2 separate regions of the Homo sapiens genome follow, and region 2 is linked to region 1. Evidence: promoter capture Hi-C in human tissues and cell types (Jung and others, 2019). All regions are on one chromosome and are shown on one strand. Each heading gives the region's core, a stretch centred on a gene start or on the middle of the fragment in contact. The rest is flanking DNA. Distances are from core to core; before and after follow the strand shown. Region 1 holds the start of KLHL35 (kelch like family member 35). Region 2 holds the start of SERPINH1 (serpin family H member 1).

Region 1 (5,345 bases), core at 2,286-4,785:
AAAAGATGATGAAAGAATGAATGAGCGGTGGAAGCAGGCGGGAAGAACGGAGGGCGGGAAGCTAGGGGATGGCGGCCCTACCTCCGCGGCCGGGTCCGCAGCGCACCGGCCTCGCGGCCCAGGATGAAGCAGGCGCGAGCCTCGAGCAGCAGCGGGCGGCACTCGCCGCAGGCCTGCAGCAGCTCGTCCGCCTCCACCTTCTCCAGGAAGTAAGCGGGCGCCAGTAGCGGCAGGCGCACGTGCTCCAGCAGGCGTCGCAGCTGGCCGCGGCGGGCCGGCGCGTCGTGGCGCACCCAGCGCATGGCCGCTTCAAACACGGCCTCCTCGCGCGCCACGCCCAGCGCGGGGTCCGCCAGCAGCGCCACCACCTCGTCAGGCGCCAGCTCCAGGAAGTCGGCGTGGCGCGCCACCTCGGCGAAGGCCTGACGCAGGACGCGGCCGCAGCGCTCGGCCAGCGGGGCCAGCGAGAAGGCGGCGGCCACGCGGCGCAGCGCTAGGCTGTTGGCGGCGCGCAGGCGGCCCTCGAGAAAGCGCACGCAGGCCTCGCGCAGGCCCGCCACGCCCAGCCGCTCCGCCAGCGCCAGCACGGCCGCCGCCTCGTCCTCCGCGCGCAGCCGCACGCCCGCTCCGTACACGTAGTCGAGCACCACGGCCAGCGCCGCCGCCGCCCCGGCCGGGCTCGTGCCTGGCGCCTCGGGAGCTACTGGCACCACTGGCACCACGGCCGGGCCGCGCTCGGGCCGCCCGGCCGCGAACAAGCTGCGGAAGTAGGCGCTGCCCGCGCTGAGCGCCGCGCGGTGGCACGGAAAGTCGCGCCCGCCGGCGCGCAGCACCACGTCGGTGAGGGTGCCGCTCCGCCGGTAGGCGTTCAGGGCCTGCAGCACGCGCTGCGCGTGGCACGGACCCGCGCACGGCGCTTCGCAGCCCGGCTCCGACTCCTCCGGCGCATGGCCTTGCCGCATCCTGCCGGGGAGAGAACACAAACAGCGTCGGGGAAGCCACCTGGCTGCGCCCGGGAGAGGCGACAGCCCTCATCCGTTTATTTCCTCTCTTGACCATTTGTTCAGCGACTCTCCCCTCCGTTCAGCATCCAGGTTCCTTACGGCTACAGTGCCCCAGCCCCGCCTCACCAGCGCGACATTCTGCCCTGCCTACCCACTCAGACACAGTGCCCTTTTCGGTTCTTCAAACTTGCTAAGCGTTTTCCTATCGATATCTGCAGGTAACAGATGGCACGCTCTCAAACAGGGTAATCGGAGGAGGGTCTAATAAAGGAACTATTTTCAACAGCGGAGTAGGCGTTAGGGACTCCAGTAGGAGTAGGGCTGTGTCCCAGGATACTAACAGCAGGGCGCCTTGGCCGCCCCGGGGTCTGTAGCGGGAGAGCAGGGAAGTTACTGGAACCTGGAAATATATCTGTGTAAGGAGGGTCCCGTGACAGGAGCTGAAGCCCTGGGTCAAGGGACTCAGGCTGCCCCACAGAGACCCAGTGTGTGCATGTGCAGGGGAGAGAGGGTACAATAACTCCACCGCCCTCTGCTCAATCCAGCCTGTCTCCTGCCGATCTCCGGTAGGTGCTGGACACTGACCACACCCTGAGCACTCCCCTGACAGACAGCATCATACACACAGCTTTCGCGCAAACGAATTCGACAAGTATTTATTGGGAGCCCTTTCTGTGCCAGGCAGTGAGCAAGACAACCATAGTTACGGTGTGCCCGGAGCTCCCAGCCTGGCGGGGGTGCCATGGGGAGGCACCGGGTGTTAGGGGAGTTCATAGAAGGGCCGCTGGACCCAGGTGGAGGGGAGTCAGGGAGGGCGTCCCTGAGGGGAACCTTCCAGCTGAGAAGGATGGGCGAATTCTGAAAGGTTAGAGCCCAGGCTGAGGGAAGCTGGCCCTCTCTCTAGTGAGTTCTCTTGGTGTTCTCCAGGTAGCACCGTCAGAAAGTGGAAAGAACTCTAGGGACAAATGGGGATTCTAACCCAGTGCCTGCCACAGGCTTACGGTGTGGCCGGGGCAAGTCACTCCTCTCACCTGCCCGCCCTGGCCTCAGTTATCTCATCTGAAATGGGATCATCATCCCTACCTCACAGGGCTGTGGCTTCATGACTATTACATGGGCTGTATGAAAAGTGCTAGTACACAGTACGAGCTACATGGGTGTTTCCCTATATTGCTTTTACTCAAGAGGAAGGGAGGACACTGTGTGTGCCAGTTGCTTTTATAGACATAATTTAATTTCATCCTCACAAGCTGAGAAGTTTCTTTAGCCCACACCTGCCCCTTTAGTTTGTCATAAGGGAAACAAGCACACACAGGACACCCGCCCTTCAGAAGTTTGCGGCGAGGCTCAGCAGAGGGGTGTTTGTGAAGGCGCTCTGCAGACTGAGGGGCTGGGCCATGCTGGTTATGATTTGGCCATTATGAACACAAAACCTCTGCTTGCACACCTCCAGGGACAGGGAGCTCCCTCCTTTCCATCAGCTTACTCTAGGGGGCTCAGGTCCACCCTCTGCGCCCTGCCTCTCCTTCCATCCTCCTGCTCCCAGCTGCTCTGCTGCCTCTGGAGGTCAGATCCCGCCTAGTGTCAGCCTGGCTTTCATGCCCTGGTCATCCAGGGCAGCGGATCCCCTGGTCAGCATCATGAGAGATGAGCTCCCTGGTGGGCAAGAAAGTTAACTACTTTTGCCCAAGTAGAGCGACTGGATCCTGAATCCACCTGGCTCCAGGGTTTGCATGCCACACTTGCCAGGGTGGGGGTGTGTCCCAAGGAGCAGCCAGGACCGGTGGAAGGAAGTGAGACCGGTCATCACAGCACGCTGCAACCAGTCTGTCCTCCACTGGCTCAGAAAGCACAACCATGCTCTGAGTTGAGACTCAAGAGGGCAGGTCTCATCAGCATAAGGATGGACTTCTTGCAAAGGTGCCCCACAGCACAAGCAGCTCCCTGGGGGAGAAAGAGTCCCCTCCTAGGAAGTGTGTCAGTACTTTTTCATTTTACTGTCTACTGCGCTGGGCACTCTGGACACACAGTGACATCAGATCCAGCATTCACTCTGGGGATCCCCAGTCTGGGGGTCAAACGACACCCAGTTGGAACACAGAAGGTAAAAATTCCCAGGTAGGGCTCAATGGGTATCCTCCCTTCTCGGCTGAGTCTAGGCACTTCAAGCCAGGGGTCATGATGCAGATTGAAGGGCCCAGCCTATAGAAGCTGACTCGAACATGCCACCATCACTCTTTTACACACCCACATCCACTTGAAGCCATTACCCAAGCACCTCCTCCGCATCCTCCCCATCTCAGACTTGCGGACACCACGCAGCCGGGTCAGCCCTGCAGCCTAAGCCTTGCCCCATGCACCTGGCACTTACCTGGCCATACCCTCTCCCAAGTGCTCCGCAGCTGCTGCTCTCACAGGTATCACTCCCGTTTGTGCCTGCCGCCCGCACCCCTGGCAGCCCAAGCTCCAGTGTTCATGCTGCTCTGCCCAGACTCCCGTTTGCTGTTCGCTCGGGCTCAGCTGCGGGAGGACAAAGGGGCTGGACGCCAGGAGGGAGGGGAAGGGAGGGGAAGGGAGAAGCGAGCAGGGAGGGGGATGCTGGGCTTTTGTTCCACTCTTGGACTAGCCCTGGGAGGGAGGGAAAGAAAGGGGGGGCATAAGAGTGGGATTGACTGTGTGTGGAACTCCAGGATTTGGTATGCCTGGGTTTGGGGGTGACCTGGTGCTGGCCTTGTCCCGGAATGACGATGGGTTCGAAGGTGTGTGGTGCTGGAGTTGGGGTGTGGGAGGGGTGTCATCATGCAGTTGTAGGCATGTAGGTTTCAGGGTGACTATGCGTGATTGTGGAAGTACATGGAATGAAGTGACTGTGTAGCATTGGGCTGCGTGTGGACATGTGGCTGTGTGACCATGTAGATGCCAATGTGACTAAGCATGTGGGGCGGGGGGCACAGTGGCTCTGAGTCTCATTCCCTTGAGCTCAGGGAGAGGCGGGAGCTGACCTCTGCCCCAGGAAGCAGAGCACTTGCCAGACATTCAGTAGCAGGGGCAGGAGGGCCGGTCCTCGAGGTTACTGTGGGGGCCCAGTGGAGCTTCCAACATTTGCAGAGGGCTCTTTTCTTTTTTACCTATAAGGTGCCAGAATCTCCTAGACCCCAAGAATTCTATCCAGAAGATCCCTGTTTGGAAGAGACACGTCCCTTGGCTCCCAGGAAGCATGGAGTTAATTTGATGCAGGCTGGAGCTGGGGCTCAGCTTCCCCCTTTTCCCTCAGGTCACACCCATGACCAGGCAGACTCTCAGGACAAAGAGGGGAGTTACAGGCCTGCTCTGACACCACCACTGACTCCTGCCCACAGACAGCAGAGGTCCCAAGGACTGGAAGGAAAGGACACCTGTGGTCCCAGGGCTGTACTTTGGCTTTCAGCTCAGGTGCCCCCAGTCCTGGGCATGGGCATGGGCCCTCCTCAGGCAGGTCCAAAGCTCGGAGAAGTCAAAGCCAAACTCCTGGCATGGGGAAGAGGCCTCCCTGTGCTGAGGGCTTGTCCCAACATAGCCGGGAGGTTCAGAATGCCTTCATGTGGCTGTGAGGGCACCTGCCAGTCCCACTCCCAGCCCTACATTGGACCCAGGAGCCCTCCCCCTCTGCGTGTCATTCCTAGCTTATGGGAGGCACACATATGCGCTGGGGCCAGAGTCTGGATGGGATTCTGGCTTGGCCTGTTCTAAGCTGTGTGGCTTTTGGAGGTCACTTTACCTCTCCAAGACTGTCTCCCCATCCACCATATGAGGATACCGGCTCCCAGCCACTGGCACCATGGCGGACCCAGGGAAGGGGAGGCACCATTCTGCCACTTTCCCATTCATTCCTGAGAATGGTTCCTCCTCAGATTATAGGGTCAGAACTGAAACCTAGACCCAGCGCACTTGTCCCCACCCTCCTGCTGGCAATTCAGAGACAACACACATCAAGATGGCAGCTTTAATCACATTGGCCAAGGGCCCTAGGTTCCCTCTGTTCAGGCCCACTTAGCCACACACCCACCCTGGCCATATCCAGAACACTTCTACCAGGTGGGCCCTGCCCTGTGGCCACTGATGTGGGAACCTGAGGTCACATCAGTCTGTGGACTCCTGGGTTAGGTGACCCTTCTGCCTTGAGGTCTGCTGGACACCTGGGCATGGGATCCAGTAGTCCTGAGCTCACTCTTTTGGCCATCTCCAGCTGCTCCTAGAGGACGTGGCTCAGGCCCGCTCCTGGGGCAGGGGGTTGGCGGTGGCATGAGGTGGGTTGGGGAGGAGGACGTGTCTCCACATTGCAGCTGGCTTCCTCCTGGGCTG
Region 2 (5,023 bases), core at 2,524-5,023, 130 kb after region 1:
AACTTCCTTCCGATTAACGTTCTATAATTAAAAGTGAGACACTAATGACGGTGCCCAGCACAGGCCTGGCAGCGGCAAAATGGCCCATAAATGTCACTTCCTTCTCGTCCACTCCCTGCCTTCCCGTGGATATGGCATAAACAGACCTGATTCAAAACCCAGCTCTGACTCTGGCTTGTTGTGTGCCCTTAACCCTGTTGCTTAGTCTCCCTGATCCTCAGTTTCTTCATGCTGAAAATTGGAACATTCTTCCTTACCTGAAAGGAATAAATATGATAATAAATGTGAATGTGTTGCACACTTAAATGACATGCAAGTTTTTGTCCTAGGATTCTATGGGGTGAAGACTGAGTGAATCTAGCCACTGGGGCCAAAGAAAGCTGTTTCCACAGCACCTGGCAGAACTGGGCCTACATACCCCCCTGGGTCATTAGAGGGTACTGTGGGAGAAAGAGGGCTGGGAGTCCAGGGCTTAGGCTCCAGCCCAGCCCCACCTCTGATATGCTGTGTGACCTTGGGTAAATTCCTGCCCTCTCTGGGCTTCCGTTGTCCTCTCTGTATAGTGTGGATGCAGTTGGACTTGATGGTTTTCTACTTTCTGCTGTCCACACCTCTCGGGACCTAGGGATCTAGAGGATTTCCAGCCAGCCTCCACGTGCCAGGCACCAGGACCACTTCCTTCAGTGAAGCGAGGCACTGGAGGAGTCCAGAGACAAAATGCTTGAGAGTTTCTCTGCTTATCAGACTCTTCTCCCCCACCCCCTAAAAGAGTGCTTTTTCCGGAAAGCTCTGCCTGGAATGTGGGGGAAGGGCCACAGTCAGTCTGGGCTGGGCTCAGAGCTAAGAATATTGTGGCAAAGGCTCTTGACTTTTTTTTTTTTTGCTGATCTTGGAAATTTAAAGGAGCCGTTGCTTTCCCTTCTTCAGGGAGGCTGTGCTAGGGGCACAGCAGCCTCAGGCAGCCACTTCTCATCCCCTGGCCAGCCATGCTTACCCAGTGCCTCTTCCATACTGTCCCCTTGCTGGAGCTGGGGACTCACAGTGACAAGGAAAAGGCCCTGCCCTTCCAAAGTCTCCAGTGATGGTTCACTGACAATACAGGGTGATAACAGAGATAATGCAGCAGTGGGATAGGTCACAGAGGAGGCTTCTGACCCGGTGTGAGATTAGTGGGGGTCGGATGGGGGTTGGGCCTTCAGACCCAGCCCTCCTTAGGCCTCAGCTTTGCTGTCTGTAAGGGCAGGTCCTCTCTTCAGTGACCACTCATGATACTGGGTCTATTTAACAGCATGAGCTTTGGTTTATCCCTCAAAATGGGACAGTCACAGCACTCTCAGTCTCCCCCTCAGGTGTTGGTGAAGCCTAAAAGAGCTAAGAGATGTAAGAGAGTAGAGGAAGGGAGTCTCACTGGGATTGTGACATCTGAACCTGCTGAAAACCCAGGCGACCCTCTCTGTTTTGCCAGCATTGATGGGCACTCTTTGTTTCTGCTCTGCCCTGCCCTCAGCTCACTGACCAAGTCACAAGGAAGCCTGAGGGCCAATGTGGGGGTGGGAGTAGAGAGTGGGGTCTGGCCTGGGACCCGGGAGGTCTCCTTGGATAAACAAGAATTTATCTTTTTTTTTTGAGATGGAGTCTCGCTCTGTCACCCATGCTGGAGTGCAGTGGCATGATCTCGGCTCACTGCAAACTCCACCTCCCAGGTTCAAGAGATTCTCCCGCCTCAGCCTCCTGAGTAGCTGGGATTACAGGCACATGACACCACAGCTGGCTAATTTTCATATTTTTATTAGAGATGGGGTTTCACCATTTTGGCCACGCTGATCTTGAACTGCTGACCTCAGGTGATCCACCCACCTCGGCCTTCCAAAGTGCTGGGATTACAGGCATGAGCCACCGCGCCCAGCCTAGAATTTATCTTTAAAAGCAATATACAGTTGAGGCAGGAGGAAGCACATGAGAACCACGACAGCCACCCCAAAGAGATGGACACCATGCCAAGGCTGGAAGCTTTTGTTAATAATCAGACCTGTCCTAAAAAAGAATGCGGGGCTGCCTCTGAAGGAGGTAAGCTCTCTCTTCTTAGAGGTGCCTCGGTGCTTGCCTTTTTGGGATACTGAGAAGAGGGCTTCTGCCTGGGGCTGCAGACAGGAACCCCTGACCTCTGAGATGCCTTGCAGCTCAGAGTCTTTAATACATTTATTCCAGAATCCTTCGACTCTGAGATTTTAACATGTTAAGATTCCTTAGCTGGATTCAAAGACTCCTTGGGGGCTTTGAGTGGAAGTAATCTCTGATTCCTTGACCCTGAATCACAGAGTCTGAAGCTTTTGGGATCTGAGATTTCCCACAGTCCTTGTACTCAAAAGACTCTGAGCTGCAGAAGCCTACCCAGACAGAGAGGTTTGTCACCACCACCAGGCTTCCCCACAACCACTAACAGAGGGCAGGGACCCAGGTGATTGACTCATTTGCTGGGTACTGGGATTTTTTTGCTCCCCAGGATCCAGGCAAGCACCTAGAAGAAAGAAGATACTCAATGCATTCATTCATGACTGAATGAATGAAGAGTCCCTACCCTGTCCCTTCCTCTCCATACTGCGTCCATCCAATAGCTATCATTAAACTACTAAAGAGGACTTTTCGGAGGGTAGGGAGCCTCGGCTGATCAGAAATTGAGCCACTGTCGCCCAGATTATTTAGGGTTTCCTAAATAATCTGCCTCACTGAATCACTGAATTCCCTACTAACAGGTACATACCCCACAGATGGACATCGCACAGGGCAAGGACTTTGTTCAGCTCTCAGCTGTGTCCTCAGCACCTAGAACAGTAATGAATACCCTAGCTTAACTTGGAGGTCAAGGAGCTATCAGTTTGCGAGGGTGGGGTAGGAATTGACAGTGAGACCTGAGGCCTGTGGGAGGGGACCCAAAGAGGGAGGGGATGCAATAGGGAGGGGGCCAGGGGTGACAAGGATTGAGGAAGGGAGAGAGGGGGGAAAAAAAGCAAGGGATGCCTTAGAACCACATTTCACAGCCAAGGGAACAGAGGCCCAGAAAGGGAAAGTAACCTGCTTAGGGTCACACAGCACCTTGCTCAGTGGAGAGCCAGGTTTTCCTTCCTGTGCACTCCTCCAAGCCCAGCCAGACCACCTGAAGTTCCCCAGGCATCTCTGCCTCTATTACTCCACGACTTGAACTTTCCGGGTGCCGGGCAGGTACCGGGTCTGGTCTGCTCCCTCTCCCTCTGGCCATCGCTGAGGTTGAGGTTTTTTGAATGTACAAGTATGGAGAAGGGCACTGCCTTCAGAAGCCTGAACGTCTCCCCTGAGAGGGAGGGGGTGCACAGGACTCAATTGTTTCAGCTTGAAAATGGGGGAGAGCGGGGAGAAGGGGAGATGGCTCTGCTTGGGGCAGAGCCCCTGCGGGGAAAGGGGCGCCTGAAAGGACGTGCGATTCGGAGTGGGCTAGCTTATGCAGAGAGCCTGGGGGTGGGAGGAAGCTCGCACTCTGAAGGACACGCTGATCCCCGTGGGGACTCCCGGCGCCCCGCAGCCCGGGCCGCCGAGGGAGGCAGTAGGACCCAGGGGCCGGGAGGCGCCGGCAGAGGGAGGGGCCGGGGGCCGGGGAGGTTTTGAGGGAGGTCTTTGGCTTTTTTTGGCGGAGCTGGGGCGCCCTCCGGAAGCGTTTCCAACTTTCCAGAAGTTTCTCGGGACGGGCAGGAGGGGGTGGGGACTGCCATATATAGATCCCGGGAGCAGGGGAGCGGGCTAAGAGTAGAATCGTGTCGCGGCTCGAGAGCGAGAGTCACGTCCCGGCGCTAGCCCAGCCCGACCCAGGTGAGGGGCGGGAGACGCCTGCGTGCGTGCGGCCCGGGGGAGCGCCGAGCAATCTGGGGGTGCGCGAGGGAGTAAGAGGGGCGAGGGGACCCTGCGAAGCGTTGGGTGCCGAGCCAGAGCCTACAAATTGGAGTCCTCGGCACTTTGGGGGCCGCTGGAGGGTTTGGAATCGAGAGCCCAGGGCTAGCCAGTGATGGTGCCAGCTGAGGGCTAGGGCGGAGATCGGAGCCGGGTTGGGAGTCCGTGCACTCGGAGGACTGGGAAAAAGTGCAGGGACCCCTAAAAGGTGGTGGTGGCAGATACGAGACTAGGTGCTGTGTAAAGGGGGCTGGGGGCAGAGAGCAGAGCCTCTGCGGAAAGAAACAGAGGAGGAAGGAGATGGGTCTGGTGCCTCTTCCCGCAAGGGTAGGGAGGATAGGCCGGCCTCGCAGTTCCAGGTCACTTCCGTTCTGGGGTTGAGGCTCAGGGGCAGCGGTGATTGGTGGCCCAGCCTCCTCACAGGCTTGCTGAGGGAATTTGAGCTTCCGGTGGTGGGAAAGGAGGTGAAATCGTCTCGACTCCTGGGGTCCGTGTGCTCTGGTAGAAGTGGGCGACAGTGGCTCAATTTCTGATCAGCAGCTTGCAGCCTAGATGATGGCAGCCAAAGGAAAGACTTGGCCAGCGAGGCTCCCTACCACTCCGAAAAAAGAGAGTGGGGGTCAGCAGGGTCTGCTCTGCTCTGGGGATTAAGGGGCTGACTAGAAGGATTTGAGTCTTTCCTTCTGTCCACTGCCACAGGGTTCTTGGAGTAACTGCAGGGTTTAAACTGCAGGGTCTAACTTCCAGAGGCTGGGGTTCCCTGCCCCCCAGCTTAGAGACATTCCTGAGGTGGCTGAAGAGCAGGAAGGAGAATGAATGCACTTCCAGACTGGCCCAGAGTCTCAGCCCCTCCTCTTCCTTGTTTCCCGCTGGTCCCTCTGGGCTGTACGGCCCGGATGGAGGCCTGAGGAAAATGAGGGGGCTTTGGTTCTCCGGAATTCCGGCCGGGGCCACACCCTCCTGTCTTCAGATGGTTCATGTACCCATCCCCCCTTCCCGTCCTCTCCTTTGTCTCCTCTGTCACCGGGACTCCCAGCAGAGATTTTTTTTTTGTACTGGCTGTGTAACAGGACACCGCATGCAGCCCTCAGGAGGGGCTCTGTGC

What was found. The method cuts DNA at HindIII sites, captures the fragments that hold promoters and counts their contacts. A contact is called where the count stands out against the background at its distance.
Region 2: the fragment with the promoter of SERPINH1 here is called in contact with the fragment with the promoter of KLHL35 in region 1 in 2 of the 25 tissues and cell types used here (IMR-90 fibroblasts and small bowel).

What each region holds. Positions count from the first base shown.
Region 1 is chr11:75,429,668-75,435,012 of GRCh38, forward strand. It overlaps KLHL35 (kelch like family member 35), which reads right to left and starts at 3,536. Exons shown (of 7, transcript NM_001039548.3): 1 at 3,376-3,536; 2 at 82-963. The coding sequence starts at 962. GDPD5 (glycerophosphodiester phosphodiesterase domain containing 5) reads right to left here. Exons shown (of 17, transcript NM_030792.8): 17 at 4,973-5,345. RefSeq lists silencers at 516-565, 646-885 and an enhancer at 2,174-3,060. The HindIII fragment of the contact is 12,939 bases long and covers 1-5,345 here.
Region 2 is chr11:75,558,480-75,563,502 of GRCh38, forward strand. It overlaps SERPINH1 (serpin family H member 1), which reads left to right and starts at 3,774. Exons shown (of 5, transcript NM_001235.5): 1 at 3,774-3,840. RefSeq lists enhancers at 331-872, 3,454-3,993, 3,994-4,534, 4,535-5,023, a cis regulatory region at 468-1,318 and silencers at 3,510-3,769, 3,780-3,829. The HindIII fragment of the contact is 16,066 bases long and covers 2,169-5,023 here.